Regions from separate parts of the Homo sapiens genome. Here region 2 is linked to region 1. Evidence: promoter capture Hi-C in 16 types of primary human blood cells and fetal thymus (Javierre and others, 2016). All regions are on one chromosome and are shown on one strand. The core of a region is centred on a gene start or on the middle of the fragment in contact, and the rest is flanking DNA. Distances in the headings are between cores, read along the strand shown. Region 1 holds the start of CAMTA2 (calmodulin binding transcription activator 2). Region 2 overlaps ZFP3 (ZFP3 zinc finger protein).

Region 1 (2,700 bases), core at 115-2,614:
CAGCAGGAAGTATTTCAGAACAGAAAGGTGAAGAATGGAGAGACAGGAAGCCTGGCCTCCAGGCACTTCTCTCCTCAGCCTAAAGTCTCCACAGACTGAAGAAGGCCCAGTGGGGCAGCTCTGGGGCTGCATCTGAGCCAGTGGTGCTTGGCGAAGAGGGCTGTGGATTCCCCAGCACCAATGAATACCCTGATCTGGAAGAGGAGAGAGCAACCTATCCACAGGAAGAGGACCGTTTTCTCACTCCTGGCAGGGCCCAGGTATTGTTGGAGTGGAACTGGGTGGAGTGAGGGAGTGATGTGGGTCTCTGGTCTTGCATGGAGATGCAGAAGCTGAGAGCCAGGCTGGAGAGCTGGATTTGAGAGAAACAAAAATAACGTAGGTGAGAACCAGAGACTTCGAGGTACCTAAGCTTGGGTACTAGGAAATCTGGAAAGAAGACCTACTTTTCCATTTTCTTTTTCAATTTCTCTCATCTTGACAGCTGCTTTGGTCTCCCTGGAGCCCCCTGGATCAGGAGGAGGCTTGTGCCTCCAGGCAGCTGCACTCTCTGGCCTCGTTCAGCACTGTCACAGCCAGAAGGAACCCCCTTCACAATCCCTGGGGGATGGAGTTGGCAGCGTCTGAAGAGTAAGGAGAAACCACCGATGCCGAGAGGCTAGTGGTGCCCCAGGGACCCAAGACTAGTTCCGTCACTAGAGTCACCCTCATTGCTGACATGAAGGCGTTTCCCCTTCCTTCGTCTCTCCAACTGCCTTTCCCATCCTCTGAACTAGGCATTAACAGCCCCCGTGGGCTCCCATCTCAACCCACCGCTCTCACAGGAGCACCCCAAGTCCTGTTTTCCTCCAGGCCCCGCTCCTGGCCTTGTATTCTCTCTGCTCTGTTATTAAAAAGCAAGCAAGTGGAGCCCGAGTTGTCTTTCTTCTTGGGATGCAGCGATGGAGAGGCCAATGGGGAAGGAGGGCTCCTTTCGCTTTCTCGAGGACCCAGCTACAATGAAGTCGGGCTGGGTCCCCAGACAAGGAGTCTTGTCCGAGGCGAGAAGGGTCCTGCTCCCAGTCCAGCGTTCCTCGCCCGGCCCCTCGGGTTCCAGCACTGGTGGGCTGCCCCCGCCCCGTTCTCTCGAACTGGGAGTCAGTCGGCCGAGCTTCCGCCTCCAGGACCCTGGAATCCTGCCCCTCAGTGCTGCTGCCCTTTTGGGGACTTCCCAGCAGTCTGTCCCTCGGCCTGGCTCAGAGCCCTAGAAGCCGAGTCCCTCTGCCCAGCGCCCCACCCAGAACTCCACGTGTGCTGACCCCAGGTTCCCTTCCTGACCCTCATCCCCTTAATTGGGAGGCCCCGCCCCGTGCGCAGTGACGTTAGACGCCGCTGTCAGCCGGCGCTGGGGGGGGTCGGTGTGGGGTAGAATGGCCGCTGCCGCCGTCACCCGCGGGACCCCGGGAGGTAAGAGCCAGGGCCTCTCGCCCGCCTCTCCGCCCCCGCGCCAGAGGGCGCAGCTCCTCCAGGTCCCGACGCGGAGCGCCGCGCCAGGGACCACCGTCCCTCTTCCCGGTTCGCCCTCACCTCCCGCTTCCGTCCTCCTCCCCCGCGCCAGGGGGCGCCGCTCACCGCAGGGCCCCACGGCGGACCAGCGCGTGCCGGGGACTGTCCCGGAGACCCCCGCACCCGGCACCTGCACTGTCCCTCGCCCACCGCGTGCCCGCGGACTCTGCTCCCGGCTTCTCCAGAACATCCCTCTATGCGGGCGGGACCCTCCCACCTCGGAGGTTCTCCTGGGACCACCACTCCGCCGGGGGGCCGCCCAGAGTGCCAAGCGTCCGATCCGGCGCCGCCCAAGTGCAGCCCAAGGACCCGCTCCCGCTCCGCACCCTGGCAGGCTGCCTAGCCAGGACTGCGCACCTGCGCCCTGGGGCGGAGTCCTTACCCCAACCCCAGCTTCACTGCACATAGCCGAGCCCGACGGGCCTCCTCCCATCTCCATCCTGGACACCTGGCGGAGCCCGTGCTGAGAGCCTCCGCCAGCTCCCATCTGTTCCCCGAGGAGGGCGGGGGGCTCAGGCTGGAGCCAGAGCGGTAGATGGGGTAGGCTAGGCCTGGAGGCCAGGGGAGGCAGAGGCGTTTGGGGAGAGGGAGCTACGTAGAGAGGGCTGTCAGCCGGAGGGTGGGTTGTCCTGAGGGTGGGAATCTGGGTGTCTGGCCCAGATTCTATCAGGTCCTAACCAACCTGGAGGAGAGAATAGGTTAGGTTCAGTTATCAGATCTGCCCTTCCCCTTGGAAAAATCAAACAGAGAAGGAACTCAGGGCGTGTCTTCTAAAGGCCTAGCTTCTACCGGAGGTAGAATCTCCTGCCCTGCCCCCAGGATCCAGGCTCTCTTGCCAAACCATCCTCCAAGGACCGGATGGCCTGAGTCCCAACCCCCAGGACCTGACCCAACCATAGCCCCAGTCTGTGCAAAAGCTCAAGGTTTAGGGCCTCTGAGGCCCAAGCCCTGCCAGTCTTCTCCCCGCTCCCCCACCCCAACCCATTTCTTCCTGCTCACTCTTCCTGTCCAGTCTGCTCACTCATATTGGCTCCGGGCACTGTGTGTTGTTCTCTCTTCTACTGTCACATCACAGTCAGCCCCTCCCTCCCTTTCCTCATCCTTCCCAGATACTATGACCCAGTTCTATACCCACTCCCTACCTCATACTTCTCA
Region 2 (2,700 bases), core at 48-2,547, 110 kb before region 1:
GGTGGGGATGAAACTGGTAAACAAAGTCCTTATTAAATCCATAGTGAAACATAATGCAATTTGGAATAAACATGACAAAGGCATTGTATCAATAAAATAGTAAAGAAATATTTTATTTACCTAAGGTGTTAGTATACCATTAAAATTAGGGAAGGAAGAAAATTTTGTACATGGGCATAGCTTCAAAAATTCTGAAGGGTATTTCTGGGTATTTAGATAGGACTTTTAAGATTGAGGCCTGTGCGGTTTTTTAATGGGTCTAAAATTAAGACAATTCATGTCCTTTCCTTGATAGTATTTGCACAAATCATCATTACCAGTCACGACTGTGGTCAGATGCTGACTCCCAAGTAAGTCGAAGAGGGAGGCAAACAGAAGGAAAAGAGAAATCTTCCTGAGATATCTGGGTAAGACATGAAGAGGACAGAGAATTGAGGTTAAGGATTTGCGTATATGTACCTAATAAGATACAAGTGATTTCATTCACCAGAAATCTGGGGCGGGGCGGGGAATATGTATCTATATATGGTAGACTTTTCTGGGAATGAGACGTGAGACCTCCCCCTTAAGAACATGGTCAGGTACAACAGGTCACTAAATTGCCTCCTAATGTTCAAATGAATGAATGGTGAACTAGAGGAAGTTTTGCTGAGCAGGAATGGGTTTAAGAGGGTAATTGAGCTAGGGCCAGGGGAGGCGAGGTGATGGATTGGATATCTAGTAGGCAAAAAGAAGTTGAGGTGACTGAGCCTTGAGAGGGGAGGACAAGAGGAAAACCTTCATTGGTTTGGCCAGTAAGGTACTTCTGAGAACAAAATGTCTAATAGGATGCACAATGTGAACTCTTCTCCTTTGCTTACACACTATCTTCAGTGAAGTCCATATTGCTCAGGGGTGTTTGTGTGCATAGATTGTTTAGGAGAAGCTTGAAGGGGTGCCAAATTCTCTGTCAGGGCTGACAAGAGGTAAATGTGGAAATAAAATATGCAAACACGGGAATCAGGCATGGAAGGGATAGGTGAGATCCAGGTTTCATGTGAGAAAGATACGGTCTGGGCACAATTCAATTTGTGCTCCAGCAATGAAAAAGGAATAAGACGGCGCACTTCACTTGTAATCAACCTAAGGGAAGAAGTAAATCAAACAACTTCCCTTACTAAGAGTGTGACTGCTAGAGGCAGAGGTATCTGGAAGGATGTGGAAACTCTGCAATCATCTATTTGTACAACCCTTTTCTCAAGCCAAGGATATAAACCTGGGAAGACACCTATATTGGAGTACAGAATAAACCCATTTGGTGAATTTTTTTTGGCTGTGATCAGTTCTGTTACCAAGGACATGATTTAAATTTGTTATATTCAAATCTACATAGAAATCAGTAATAGAAACTGTGCAAAGGGTTTCAGATAAGGCAGTAATGAATCTGCCTACCTGCGGCATAGCACAGTGGTTAAGAGCATCAACCAGGTTTGGAGTCTTGGCTGTCGCTCTTACTAGCTGTGGAATCATGGGTCAATTACTTAACACTGCCCCTTCTTATCTTTTAAATTGGGGTAAGAATACCCACATCATTGATGGTTGCACCACTATGTAAATTAAAAATCATTCAACTGAACACTTAAAACAGGTGAATTTTATAGTACGTAAATTATACCTTCATAAAGCTTTAAAAAAATGAGTACCCACATCATAGAAATGATGTGAAAATTAAAATGTAAACTGGCACTCTGCCTGTCAGGTAGTAAACACTCAATAAATATTAGTGACTAATATTAGTGTAACAAAGATGAGGTTAAAGAATAATAAAGATATATAAAGTTAAATTTTTAAAGAATTAAGGAATTATCGGGCTGGTTGAAACTTTTGAGATCACTTAGTTCAACTCTTTCATTTTACAGAGGAGAAAATTGGAGACCAGCAGGTGAAGTGCCTTGTTCAAGGTCTAGCGCTAAGACCAGCCCCCAGGCCTGTTGGGCCCCCATTAGTGCAATTCCCACTGTCACCCACGGCCTCAGAAACATGGACACATGGAAAATGTAGGCTGTTTCCTTGGAGAAGAAATAAATACAGAACACAAAAAACATGCAGACATAGCGAAGAAAGAATTTCAAGGCCGGGCATGGTAGCTCACACCTGTAATCTCAATACTTTGGGAAGTTGAGGCAAAAAGATTGCTGGAGCCCAGGCATTCAAGACCAGCCTGGGCAACATAGCAAGACTTTATCTCTATTTTTTTAAAGTTATTCAAGAAAAAAGAATTTCAAGGCCAAGGGGCAAAACCAAGAAGAGGCTACGACATCCTGACTTAGCCAGGGCCTCCAGTGCGGTCCAGGTCATGAGAACTTAAGTGCTTTGGCAAGGCCAGACCCTGGTTTGTCATCAGGTGAACTGACTCATCACTGTAGCCAGGTGCCCGGAGGAGGTGAAGCCACAGTCCTGTCTGCTACTTACTGTCACAATATCTGTCAGCAGTGGCAGGAGATGGGGCTAAAAATATATGCAGCAGAATTCTTAGGAGCAGTCAGTCTGAGCACCCCTGAAGTGTGGACAGCTCCTGAAGAGCTGCTTCTGCCCATGCCGAGCAGTGTGACCTCAATTGTTTATCCCCTGGTGTTGCCTAATCGGCCCCTCTGGATTCTAAGGCCTTCACTTATAATCCCGTTGTAAATTGCCTGTCAGTTCCTCCATCATGGCAGCCTC

What was found. The method cuts DNA at HindIII sites, captures the fragments that hold promoters and counts their contacts. A CHiCAGO score of 5 or more calls a contact.
Region 2: a fragment that was not itself captured here is called in contact with the fragment with the promoter of CAMTA2 in region 1 in 1 of 17 cell types (non-activated CD4 T cells); the score reaches 5.9 in non-activated CD4 T cells.

The regions. Positions count from the first base shown.
Region 1 is chr17:4,986,339-4,989,038 of GRCh38, reverse strand. CAMTA2 (calmodulin binding transcription activator 2) reads left to right here and starts at 1,364. Exons shown (of 23, transcript NM_015099.4): 1 at 1,364-1,446. INCA1 (inhibitor of CDK, cyclin A1 interacting protein 1) reads left to right here. Exons shown (of 7, transcript NM_001394789.1): 6 at 95-260; 7 at 485-909. The coding sequence ends at 634. CAMTA2-AS1 (CAMTA2 antisense RNA 1) reads right to left here and starts at 1,295. Exons shown (of 3, transcript NR_187235.1): 1 at 814-1,295; 2 at 447-623; 3 at 1-352. RefSeq lists a silencer at 1,345-1,884. The HindIII fragment of the contact is 15,391 bases long and covers 415-2,700 here.
Region 2 is chr17:5,093,763-5,096,462 of GRCh38, reverse strand. ZFP3 (ZFP3 zinc finger protein) reads right to left here. Exons shown (of 2, transcript NM_153018.3): 2 at 89-2,700. Among named protein-coding and RNA genes, the nearest start is that of ZFP3, 17 kb to the right of the region's middle. The HindIII fragment of the contact is 739 bases long and covers 928-1,666 here.